2 separate regions of the Homo sapiens genome follow, and region 1 is linked to region 2. The links are contacts of gene promoters, found by promoter capture Hi-C in blood cells and fetal thymus (Javierre and others, 2016). All regions are on one chromosome and are shown on one strand. The core of a region is centred on a gene start or on the middle of the fragment in contact, and the rest is flanking DNA. Distances in the headings are between cores, read along the strand shown. Region 1 holds the start of TRH-GTG1-8 (tRNA-His (anticodon GTG) 1-8). Region 2 holds the start of GOLM2 (golgi membrane protein 2).

Evidence for each region. The method cuts DNA at HindIII sites, captures the fragments that hold promoters and counts their contacts. A CHiCAGO score of 5 or more calls a contact.
Region 1: a contact is called between a fragment that was not itself captured here and the fragment with the promoter of GOLM2 in region 2, in 1 of 17 cell types (fetal thymus). The highest score is 5.2, in fetal thymus.

Annotation. Positions count from the first base shown.
Region 1 is chr15:45,199,052-45,205,701 of GRCh38, reverse strand. It overlaps TRH-GTG1-8 (tRNA-His (anticodon GTG) 1-8), which reads left to right and starts at 5,218; the gene lies at 5,218-5,289. It overlaps TRH-GTG1-9 (tRNA-His (anticodon GTG) 1-9), which reads right to left and starts at 4,551; the gene lies at 4,480-4,551. It also overlaps a transcript of SHF not described here. RefSeq lists silencers at 4,347-4,396, 4,417-4,476, 5,117-5,396 and enhancers at 4,350-4,859, 4,727-5,016, 5,897-6,056, 6,617-6,650. The HindIII fragment of the contact is 1,352 bases long and covers 852-2,203 here.
Region 2 is chr15:44,287,256-44,293,226 of GRCh38, reverse strand. GOLM2 (golgi membrane protein 2) reads right to left here and starts at 4,508. Exons shown (of 10, transcript NM_138423.4): 1 at 3,871-4,508. The coding sequence starts at 4,197. RefSeq lists a silencer at 4,232-4,591 and enhancers at 4,402-4,696, 5,092-5,161, 4,543-5,449. The HindIII fragment of the contact is 5,453 bases long and covers 1-5,203 here.

The DNA of each region.
Region 1 (6,650 bases), core at 278-2,777, 920 kb before region 2:
TCTATGCTGGTCACTTGACTTTGGATGAGGGGCAAATCTCAGTTGACAAACTCAGCTCAAAAATAAACTACTCTAGGCAAGAAGTATCTTATACAGCTTTGCAGCCCCCAATGACTTAAGAACTAAGAGATGCTAGTTTATGGGAAGAATGAAGAATGAATGAATGAATGAATGAGTGGATGGATGGATGGATGGATGGATGGATGGATGGATGGATGAATGGATAGATAAGTAGATGGATGAAATCTGAGTCCTCATTACCCAGAGAATCCCTGTGGAACAGGCTCAGTTAAGTCAGAAGTGGTATGTTGCAAATTAAATGAGTCTTTTCCAGCCTCAGCTTTTCACTACTACTTCCTGGGGCACAGCGCCTTCTAGTGGAAATCCAGATGTGCTGCCTCCTCCCTAGACGGCCCTAAACATGGGCCCTTTGATGACTCCCTCCCAGATCACCATCTCCTCACTGTGAAAACCTCAATGACATCCCCATTGATGAGGCTCAGTAGATTCAGGCAGGTCCCTTCTAGTAACCCAAGTACTCACAAGATGAACAATGAAGGATTCCATTAGAGCTTTAGGCTAGAGCAGCACTTCTCAAACTTTCCTGTGCAGATGAATCACTTGGAGAGGACCTTGTGGAAAACCGAAGATTTTCACTGGGTAATTCTGAGTTGTGGATCAAGATTCTGAATTTTGGACAAGCCTTCCAGGACCAGAGCCTGCTGGTCCAGTGGCAGCTGCTCAACACTGCGCCCCTGTGGGGGTTGGCAGCTCCCAGATATACGAGGTATAACCAGGGAGTATAACCAGGAAGCTGTGGGGTTGATGGTTTAAGCAGACAATCTGAAGCTTATAAATTACTGTTGTCCCTTTCAAGGTTTGCCCTTTGAAGTCTACACACTCCTACCAAAAAAAAAAAATTGTTTTTCTTTTGCTGGAATGTTATTTATAAAACATTTCTGGCATTGTCATTGAAATTTTTGTGCCTTAAAAGACTCAGTGGTGACATTTTTCTCTTTGAAGGTAGCTTTAAAAGCAGTCAAAAGTTATTTCAAAATAGAATGTGATTATAAATATTGAGGTGGATGTACTCATATGGCTTATAAATTAGCCCTGAAAATAATCTCCAAATAAGAATTCCAAAAATATTTTGGGCAGCTGTTTGGAGAAAGTGGAATGCCTGATTTGAAACACAATACTCATTTGGATGTTTATGTTCCAGGGTGTTCATTTTTAAGGAGTTGATTTCATTATGTTATATTCCCATCTACTATATTATTTAAGTAAAACTTCAGTAGGGCTTTGTAAGTGCCAGGCACTATTGCTTTACAAATATTCATTCATTTAATCTTCATAACAATCCTTTTACAGATGAGAAGTCATTCTACAATCATTTTACAGGTGAGAAAACTGAGGCATGGAGACATGTTGCTTCCCCAGGGTCACCTAGTTAGTAAATGGATGAGTTGAGATTCAAATCTTAAACAGCCTACTTTCAGGTGTCAGAGGCTTCATTACTAAGCTATGCTAGCTCCCCCAACAGAGACGAGGTCTCATTATACTGTCTAGTCTGGTCTTGAACTCCTGGGCTCAAGCAATCCTCCCACCTTAGTCTCCCAAAGTGCTGGGATTACAGGCGTGAGCCACCATCCCCAACTTATGCTACCCCTTAATTAGAGTTAGGACTAGTCTAGTACTATCAACTACTGTACCTCAGGGTCTATCAGATGGAAGGGAAAAAAATTCAAAGTGACTTAGAGGTTGGAAACCTGCAGAAATTAACAAATCCAACCAAGATGGGAACAACTGGAGCTGGAATGTGTGAACAGGGTGCTCTTAAGTATAAGCACCCTACCTCTTTCCTGGCACTGAGACCTAGAGAAGAGTTCCAACCTCAAGCTGGAAGTGATAGGAGGAAATATTACATTCCCAGAATCAGAAATCATAAAACAATTTTAAAAGCAAGGGACCAACAGGAAGGGGGTGCTGACTGATTGCTCAGAGAGGGTGTCCCAGGGCAGCGGGGTCTTGATGAGGTCATTCCAGGCCAGGGTCTCCAGGAGCAGGGCTTTGCCAGCCCTGACATTCCATTTTGTCAGTGTACCTAGAGATAAGTAGGCACAAGGGAAATGAATTATGCTAACCAGACTCTTATGAGTCTAAACCAAAACACCCACAGTTAGGAGAACAGTGCCAATAAGCTTGTTCAAAGCATGCTTTTTCCTGTAGGGAAGTCTAATGGGCAAATCATTATCAAAGTCTGTTTTGTAAGGAAAATTGACTGAGTGACCTCAGAAGAGGATGTTATGAAATGTTGAGAGCTGGATGCGCCCATCTCATGGACTACCGTGTAGCTGCCAAAAAGGCAGCCCTCCCCTCGTGTCACTCTTCCTGCAACTAGGTCACAATACAACACTTTCAGTTCAGCTTTCTTTAGCATTCCTGACCTCAGACATGGATGGCTAGTGGGTTATCTCAGATGGTGAATGTTTGTGATTTTTGTTTTATTGGTTGACGCTTTTTTTTTTTTTTGAGACAGGGTCTTGTTCTGTTGCCCAGGCTGGAGTTCAGTGGCATGATCACGGCTCACTGCAATCTCCCCCTCCCAGGCTCAAGCAATTCTCCCACTTCAGCCTCCTGAATAGCTGGGACTACAGGTACACACCGCCACACCTGGCTAATTTTTGTATTTTTTATAGAGAGAGCTTCTCACCATGTTGTCTAGGCTGGTCTCAAACCCCGGAGCTCAAGCAATCCTCCCACCTCAGCCTCCCAAAATGCTGGGATTACAGGCATGAACCACCATGCCCAGCCTCTTGGTTGACACTTTTTCCTTGTAGTACTCTTAGAGAGTGGCTACTCCTAACTTTCTCCTCAGGGTGTGGGAGCAGCTCATTGCCTACTGAAGCACCTGCAGCAGGGCAGTGGGGGCTGGTCTTCAGGGGAAAAGCCAGAGCCTTTCCTGGCATCCCACCCTGACACCTTATTCCAGCCCACAGATTGAAATCCGTCACAGCAGTTATTTGGTGAGGGGTTGGAGGAATATAAGTCACCACATTCCTGTTGGCCAGTTCTTTTTTTGTTGTTGGCGATGTTGATTTTCTAGACATATAACGTTTGAATCAGTCATCCAAAGCTTGGCAAGTTCTCAGGCTCACCTTTCCCCATTCTATTTTGCGCAGAACACTCTCGAGGTGTGAGCTGTCCTGTTGTGTGGTTTAAACTCGCCAAATGTAGAGAACTGGGAGACTGGAGACCTGGGGAGATTACAGCCCCCACGCAGTGCCTTGCTTTTTTTTTTTTTTTTTTTTTTTTTTTTTTGAGACAGGGTCTTGCTCTGTCGCCCAGGCTGGAATGCAGTGGTGTGATCTCAGCTCACTGCAACCTCTGCCTCTCGGGTTCAAGCAATCCTTCCACCTTAGCCTCCCAGGTAGCCGGGACTACAGGCACACGCCACCATGCCCTAATTTTTGTATTTTGGGTACAGACAGGGTTTCGCCATGTTGCCCAGGCTGGTCTGGAGCTCCTGAGCTCAAGAGATCCGCCCACCTCGGCCTCCCAGAGTGCTGGGATTACAGGCATGAAGCCAGTGCCTAGCTTTTAAGTGCTGTTCATTCTTTACTGATTGATTGTGGGTAGAGGGGGCGCAACCCCATTGCAATGTCTGTCTCTCCCAGGAATGATCTCGGGCTTGCCTTGCCACCCTCAGGACACCTGAGAGGAGCTGGAGAGGCTCATTCCTCAGTGCCCTCTCATTCCCTCCTTGAGAGTGACATAGCCACCACCAGCTGCCTGAAAGTCAAATCCAAAACTCACTTCCATTTTGCCTAATGCCAAATGACAGACTTGAATTTGTTGAGTTTGGGTTTTTTAGGTCCACATAAAACAAGCAAACAAAATGTGCTTAAACTTGAGGTAGATTAGGGGAAAACCCTCCAGGAGAAAACCCCCTCTCACCTAGGAGACTGTGGAGATGAAGGCCACAAACCTCTCATTAGCACCCCTCATAGTGGCTACTGGAACCAGCACCTCTAGTGCAGTCATATATTTCACTTGTCACGGGATCTGAAGCAAAACGGTTCAGCGTATGGTCTAATCTGCATTCTTCTAACCCTTAATTAATGTTTGCACATTGTTCCTATCACCCCTTTGTCCCAAAGTATTGATGTTTTAGCTAGTGTGAAGGTTTTTAGAGGATCCAATATATGATTCGGTCATTCACAAGGGTAAAATAAAGAGTACCACACAGAAACTACACAAAAATAAAATAATCACATATTGGGGAAGGTGGGGGTGACTGATTCACTAGCAGATGAGAAAGGAAAGCCCCAGAGTGTGCACCGAACTTTTTGTGCACACTTCATTGTCCGTTATAATTTCAGCCCTGGCCAGGTAACAGCTTTTAGAGTTAGCTTCCCAGAAGAATGTGTGGCTTTCTAAGTCTAAAAAGAGGCCCTTGCCGTACCATTGTTTCCACAATGCCGTGACTCGGATTCGAACCGAGGTTGCTGCGGCCACAACGCAGAGTACTAACCACTATACGATCACGGCGAGCTACCGGGACGCCACGACGAGCAGCTGACCCAGTGTTGCCCTTCTCGTCTAGATGGCGGCCATTCCAGCTTTCCTAAGCGTCCATTATCTACCAGGTTCCTCCCGCACCCACGTTCACCCGCAAGAGCAGCCGGGAGCGCTGTGGACTCCCTAGCCCGAAGTCTCCTCTTGGCTGTACGCACGGACCGCAAAAGAAGGGACATGAAAGTGCTTTGCAACCAAAGGATTCCTATGAGGCCGGGCCTGCAATGATGTGAAGCCCCTGAGGACGCCCGAATGGTGGCCCAAAGTCTCTCTGACGCTCACCATGCCCTGACTATCATGCTATCTGAACGACTTTGGCTGGGACTGGAGCTCTTAAATTTTACAAGAAGGAAAATCAGTTCTGACCCACCACCATACAACTTCCTTGAGGCGCGAGGTAAGGGGAACCCCAAGAGCAGCCTCCACGGTGGAGAAATCGGCCACCGTGTCTGGTGCGCAGGCAAGTGTGGACCAAAATCGAGAAAGCAGAGATTAATGCTCTTGCGTGCCCTCAGATGGCTGCGAGGGTGGAGATAGGCTAGAACAAACAATGACAAATCAATGACATTGCAAGGGGGCGGGGCTTTCAACAGAGAAGAGTTCAGGCGACAAGCCGAGGTCCTGTGTCCCTAGTAGCTCGCCGTGATCGTATAGTGGTTAGTACTCTGCGTTGTGGCCGCAGCAACCTCGGTTCGAATCCGAGTCACGGCATTGTGAGGACAATGGCACGGCAAGGGGAGTTTGTTTTATTGTACCAATCCGTTTTTAATCCTGAGTTCACAACATTGTGGAAAATGGACCCCGATTCCCTTGTGACATTTGAGAGCGACGTTTACGCTGGCTCTGGCTAAATTGGACTTTGGAAAGATATAGGCTTCCGGGTCCTCTGAGCCTGGGCGCGTTCTTGAAGACAAAGCACAGACCACTCGCCAGTTTAAAAAGTGTTGTAGTAGACATACGTACAAATTTCCACAGAAGCACTGGGAGCGGATTCCTAATGATAGGAAAAGAAGGCTTAGCAAAGGAAGTGAGGATCAAGGTAGCTCTTAAAGGCACAGTGAGAATTTGTCAGGCAGCCAGGATGATTTCGTGTACAGAGGCTTGAAGGGAGTCTTGAAAAGGAAAAATCTTTTTTTTTTTTTTTTTTTTTTTTTTTTTTTTTTTTTTTTTGAGATGGAGCCTCGCTCTGTCACCCAGGCTGGAGTGCAGTGGCGCGATCTTGGCTCACTGCAACCTCCGCCTCCTGGGTTCAAGCGATTCTCCTGCCTCAGCTTCCCGAGTAGCTGGGACTACAGGCACCCGCCACCAGGCCCATCTAGTTTTTTTGTATTTTTAGTAGAGACGAGGTTTCACCGAAAAGGAAAGATCTTAATTCCTCTTTATAAGTCTTCTGTCTTCTTTGTAAGTCCCCACCCCAACAACGCCCAAAGGCTCTGGCCTGACAGGTAGTAGGCGCTTCTCGAGGACGTGTTGAGTTGAATGAGTGAAATTGAGGCATGGGGAACGACACTGAAGGAGGGCCAAGAGATGAGCTGGAAAAGGCAGACGAAGTTCCTGCCGTCTAGGGGTGAGGGTGAGGAGGGTAGAAGTGAAAATATTCAAATCGTGTTTAGCAAGATCCCTCCCGCGGCTCTGCATAGGGAGGATTGATGGGAGAGGGTGACATTGGAGAGACAGGTGTTCTCTCTGGAATTCACTTGTTAAATGCCAATGGCACCTTCTGAGTTTTAGCAAATAGCCACTGCCTGCTGTGTACTCGGCCCGGTTCTAGGCGCCGTGGGGGCGAGAGCACTGATGGACAATAATTAAAATCGGACTTAGTCCCTGCTGCGGCCCCGTGACACAGCCTAGGTGGGCACCTGGCACGGCGGAAGCATTGCGGAAGGAGGAGTCAGGAGGAGTCAGGGCTGTCAGGGGAGTATGAGAGGCTGGAAGGAAGTGGGTGTTGGGAACATGGGGAGATGCGTTTGCTGAATTTTTTTCTACGTGGAACCTGGTTCTAGGGTGTCCACAATCTCCACAGAGGCGGCATTGGGTCACCGCTGGAGGATGCAGCAGGAGGGAGGACCCGT
Region 2 (5,971 bases), core at 3,259-5,758:
TAAGTGGCCAGGTATGGTAGCTCACACCTGGCACTTTAGAAGGCCAAGGCAGGAGGATCACTTGTTTAGTTTTCCAGATCTAATTTTCCAATAATTTTCCAGATCTAAAACTGTTAAGTGGCCAAGTATGGTGGCTCACACCCAGCACTTTAGAAGGCCAAGGCAGGAGGATCACTTCAGGCCAGGAACTGGAGACCAGCCTGGACAAGATAATAAGACCCTCATCTCTACCAAAAAATAAAAAATTAGACCATCATGGTGGCATGCACCTATAGTCCCAGCTACTTGGGAGGCCGAGGTGGGAGGATCGCTTGAGCCCAGGAGTTTGAGGCTGTAGTAAACTATGATCGCACCACTGCTCTCCAGCCTGGGTGACAGAGCAAGACCCTGTCTCAAAACAAACAAACAACAATAACAATAAAAAAAACCCTGAAAAACTGTTAAGTTTAAAATACAGAGACCAAGACTACCCTTTCTACTAAGCAGCTCAGAGAGTCCTCATTAACCCCAAGAACAGACATTCACAAGCAGCCCAAGAAAGTTGTTATAGCCAGCTCAAAATACAGAAGTGGCACACCAAGTGCTGTGGCACACACCTAGAATCCCAGCACTTTGTGAGCCCAAGGCAAGATCACTTGGAGCCAGGAGTTTGAAAGCAGCCTGGGCAACATAGCAACACCCTATCTCTACAAAACTAAAAAAAGAAAAAACTTTTAAAAATATACAGAACTAGCCGGGTGCGGTGGCTCACGCCTGTAATCTCAGCACTTTGGGAGGCCAAGGCTGGTGGATCACGAGGTCAGGAGATCGAGACCATCTTGGCTAACATGGTGAAACCCCATCTCTACTAAAAATACAAAAAATTAGCCGGGCATGGAGGTGGGCGCCTGTAGTCCCAGCTACTCAGGAGGCTGAAGCAGAGAATGGCGTGAACCCAGGAGGCGGAGCTTGCAGTGAGCCGAGATCACACCACTGTACTCCAGCCTGCTTAACCGAGCGAGACTCTGTCTAAAAAAAAAAAAAAATATATATATATATATATGTATGTATACACATATACACACACAGAACTGACATTCAATAAGAGATACAGTCTTGTGAGCCAGCTGCATAAAATATTAGCCAAACACTTAAAAGTAGTTAAGATACCCAGGGCAATATTTCCCAAACTAGTGGGCTTTGCTATATTATTCTGTGCCATAATAGGTAGGCCATGAAAATAGTAACCTGTGATCAAATAAACTAAACAAGACTGAGTTAAACAAAATTGAATAGCCTTCTTTATTAATGGATTTCTCAGAGCTTTTATATTCCAGCAGGCATTATGAATTCCAAGAGGAGGATACACTAACATTTCCCTCCAAAAAAGGTTTTCATTTTTTTCTCCTCACCACCTAAGAAATATTACAAGAAGGGTATTCTGTTTAACACTACTTTGGGGAATACTGCTCTTATGGGAGAGCAAAGGCTCAATAACAGAGTCCCTTACTAGGTGACTGGAAAGAAAAAATAAATCCAGCAAAGAATATAGTGAAGAAGATAAGACTGGAGAGTCCAGTATAACAGAAGCAAGAAAGAAAATAGTTTCCAAATAGCTAGAGACAATCAACAGGATCAAACTACTGGGAGGTCAAATACAGTAAGAATAAAAATATTCTTTGGTTTTGACTAGGAAGACTGCCATTTGTGACCTTCAAGAGAATAGTTTCAAAAAAGGGGAGGAAAGAAAGATGGCAGACATTTTAAGATTAGGATGGTTATGAAAAAATAGGTAGATGGAACATTTGTAGACCATCAATAATTTGACTTTAGCAATGAAAGTGAAAAAACAAATGGGTTGGTTGGGAGAAAGGAATATACAGATTTTTTTTCCTTTACTGAGAACAGGGGACACCCACATACTGTTGAAGGTAAAAAGTGAAACAAACTGAAAGAGACAGTTCAGTAGAGCTGGGCAAGGTGGTGCACACCTGCAGTCCCAGCTACTCAGAGGCTGAAGCAGGAGGATCACTTGAGCTCAGGATTTCAATGCTATAGTGCATCATGCCTGTGTAACAGCTACTGCACTCCAGCCTGGGCAACACAATGAGACCCTGTCTCTTTAAAAAAAAAAAAAAAAAAAGAGGCTGGGCATGGTGGCTCACACCTGTAATCCCAGCACTTTGGGAGGCTGAGGCGGGCGGATCACCTGAGGTTGGTAGTTCAAGACCAGCCTGACCAACATTGAGAAACCCCTTCTCTACTAAAAATACAAAATTAGCCAGGCGTGGTGGTGCATGCCTGTAATCCCAGCTACTCAGGAGGCTGAAGCAGGAGAATTGCTTGAACCCCGGGGGGGCGGAGGTTGCAGTGAGCTGAGATCACGCCATTGCACTCCTGCCTGGGCAACAAAAACAAAACTCCGTCTCAAAAAACAACAACAACAACAACAACGACAACAACAAAAAGTCCAATGGATGAAAGAATGGAATCAAGAGTATTAATTACAACAAGAGACTTTCCTTTGAGACCAGAGAGAAGAATGTGAATTGTAATGCTCAACCATGCCAAGTAGGAAGACCTTACTTTAATACTCCAAACTTTCATGGATTTCTACCTACTCTGCCCGAGAGTTTTTCAGTCTTTAGAGTTAAGCATGCAGCGCACATATAAATGTACTGATTCCTTGACCCTATCATAGCATGTCTATGTTATGGTGAAGAGGAGGGGGTTATAGGGAAGCACTTAGCTGAGGGCCTTAATCTTCATGAAATAAGAAAGCCAGGTAGAGGCTGTCAACAGGAAAGTTAGAAGCTCACAGACAGTTTAATTCATAATGACTTACCCTTAAGTGATTTTGATATGCAAAGTAAAACTTGTAATTATAATGGGCATTTACACACAAAAATGTGAAGATTACCAAAGAAGTGTATAGAAAGGCATCTACTATCCTGCCCAGAAATTTTCATAACTCTACTATACCTACAGAAGTTGCTAAGTCATAAACTATTAATATAGTTACCAATGAGCTAATGAAAACAAGGATTATTTAGTAGCAAGTATGATTACAGTTCAATTTTAAACTTTTTATATTTAAAACTTTGTATAGTTTTCCATCTGCATAAAACACCAACCCTAATAGCAACTTAGCTATACAAAATTTCATTCTATTTTCTTTCAATGAAGACACTGACATGACATTCCACTGCTTAAAATTTATTTTCAGATTCTAATCTTTTGGCTGATTTCATTAACAATTCAAATTGAGTAGATAATGATGGATCAACTATGTCCAAGACACAAGTGTGTCTCACATATAGCTCGAGGGCCCATCTATCATAACATTTTGATCACAAAAAGGCAGTCATAGCTGATTATTTAGTTATTCAATACATCACCCTATAGAGATTTTAAAAGTCACACAGCTTAAAAAATATATGATGACTACCATAAGTAGAGGAGTCAGAGGCGGCTTCGTTCTTTAAATAACGAAATTAATATTGATCAGTGTGCACGGAATAAAAATGAGACAATAACCACACCAAACCTGGCAGTCGCCAGATTTGTGTGTCTTTGAAGGTAAGGGGGCCACACAGGCCAGATGATTACTACTGCCAACTCACCAGCTGAGCTTAGAGAATAGGCAGCATCTGCACACAGTCCACTCTTGAGAACCAGAATTTACAGTCATTTTTTTCTGGCAGGGACCAGAGAACGTGGCACTGATAAACTGGGAAAAGTCTGACAGAAACAGGGTTGTTGGGGGTGAAAGGAGCCTTCAGGACTGAAATACTGGAAGGCATAAGACAACAGCTAGCGGATTAACATCCCGCCCCAGACCCCGGGGAGAAAAGAAACCATGGGGTTTGAAGAGAAAAGGGTCGTCCTTACCTTGTCATCCTCGCATCTCTTCCCGAGGCCCTCTCTGGCCTGCAGCCGGCTGCTGAGGCGGCCGTAGTCGGCCTCCTTCTGGTCGATCTGTTTCTTGTGCGTGTCCACCAACAGCAAGAGGTCCGAATTGCGCTTTTCCAGCCGCCCGCGGGCCACTTCGGTGCGCTGGACCTGGCCCTGCAGCTCGGCCACCTCCTCCTGAAGCAGGACGTGGCGGGAGGAGATGCTCCAGTAGTTGAAGGCGAGGACGACGATCACCACCAGCAGCACCACCAGCACGAGAGAGGGCAGGCGGCCAGCCCGCCGGTTGGCCCCGAAACCCACCATGGGGCCAAATCGGGCTGTACCCTAGGGGCCTCGCCGCAGACACCTGCAGGCAGAAGCCCAGGCCTCGGCTGGAGTTGCCCGGCGGACACGGCCCCAGGGCCGGCCGAGGGAGGAGGCGGGCTTACCGGTCGGCTGCGAGCCGGAGAAGGGGGCGGGGCCGCAAGCCGCAGGTCCCTCCCCGCCCCCCTCCTCAAATCAGGCCAAAACGCGTTCCGGAGGCTTTGAACCCGACCCTGCACCTGCCCAAGGGAACCGGGAGAACCCAGCTGCCAGCGTCCCCCAAACCCAACACCTCACGGTTGGGAGGCGGGGAAAAAAACCGGAAAGGGGCGGATGTACCCTGGCCCCACCCACTAGCTGGGGCCGGGTCGTCTAGGGGACCATTTCCGAGTTTCCGTCGACACCCCTCTTGTCGCGAGAACGTTGCTTCCTCTCGTCTCTCTCTCTCTCTCTCTCTCTCTCTCTCTCTCTCTCTCTCTCTCTCTCTCTCTCTCGCTCTCTCGCTCTCTCGCTCTCTCGCTCTCTCGCTCTCTCTCGCTCGCTCTCTTTCTCTCTCTCTCTCTCTCTCTCTCTCTCTCTCTCTCTCTCTCTCTCGCTCTCTCTCTCTCTCGCTCGCTCGCTCTCTTTCTCTCTCCCCGCCCAGAGTTTTCTCTGTCGCGTAGGGTGTTGTGTTAATTTTGGCGGTCTCAGATGTCTCAGGTACCTGGGTCGGAGTCCTTTCTGTTGTTATCTACTGGATTCCCTTGATTCAAGGCCTAGGGAGTTCCTGCCCTACACTGGCCCTCGCGAAAATATTTGTCTTTGAGGACGTCTGGGGCTGCGACCGCGGAATAGAAAAAAATAGTAGGTGAGCTGCTGCCAAAAAGGAGCGACTAGAAAGGTTTTGTACTTGCTTCTGTAGAAGGGGAATTTCTCTTTTGTGCTAATGATGTGGAAAGAAAAAACAAAAAGACTGTAAAATAGCGATGCCCTAAACATAATGGAGAAAAGCGGGAGAAACCAAGCTTTAGGACTGAAAGGGGTGGTGCCAGTCTCGTTTCCTAGGTTACTGCTTTCACGAACCGAAAGAATTTCAGAATGTGGCGAGCTCCAATTTTTAAACGCACTGCTGCTTTTGCCTCAGCTGGGCTTCCAAACAGAAAGTCCAGAAGCTGCCCTCGATGAATCGTAACTAATGCACTGTTACTGCCAGCGAACACATTCCGGGTTAGAAATAATAGCTCTAACAAATTGTTTTGCGCGCCTAGTCTCATATTATCTTCTCAACAACGCAATTTTACAGATGAAGAATCCAAGACACATAGATGTTTGGGAACTTTCTCTTATCTGGTTTTAAATAGGCTTGAATCCAGATCATTGAACTCTAAACACCAGTGCTGTCTGCATATAGCAGATTGTTTATATGTTAAGTGTGAATTTCAGTAGTGCAAAAAAAAAAACAAAACCTGCCTCTTTTTTTTTTTTGCATAATTATTTTGTCCGTGCATAGAGAAATAAAAAGGTACTGGCTCTAACCTGTTTAAGGAGAGGATGGGGTTGCCTTATTTTTCAGACCTCAGGTTGAAGAACTTCCATGAGTATAAAACCTCAAGAAGGAAAAACCTTGGTATTTTTTATTCGAATCAGAGTGATATGATTTTGAGGCAGGAAGACTTGTCATCTTAATTATTCTGTGCTTCCTATCCTCAAAAATTATTTCCCTAAGTCCCGTAGTAGCGTAGAATTATTGCATCTTCAAAGAACAATGATTACTCTCTCAGATGCAGTACAGAAA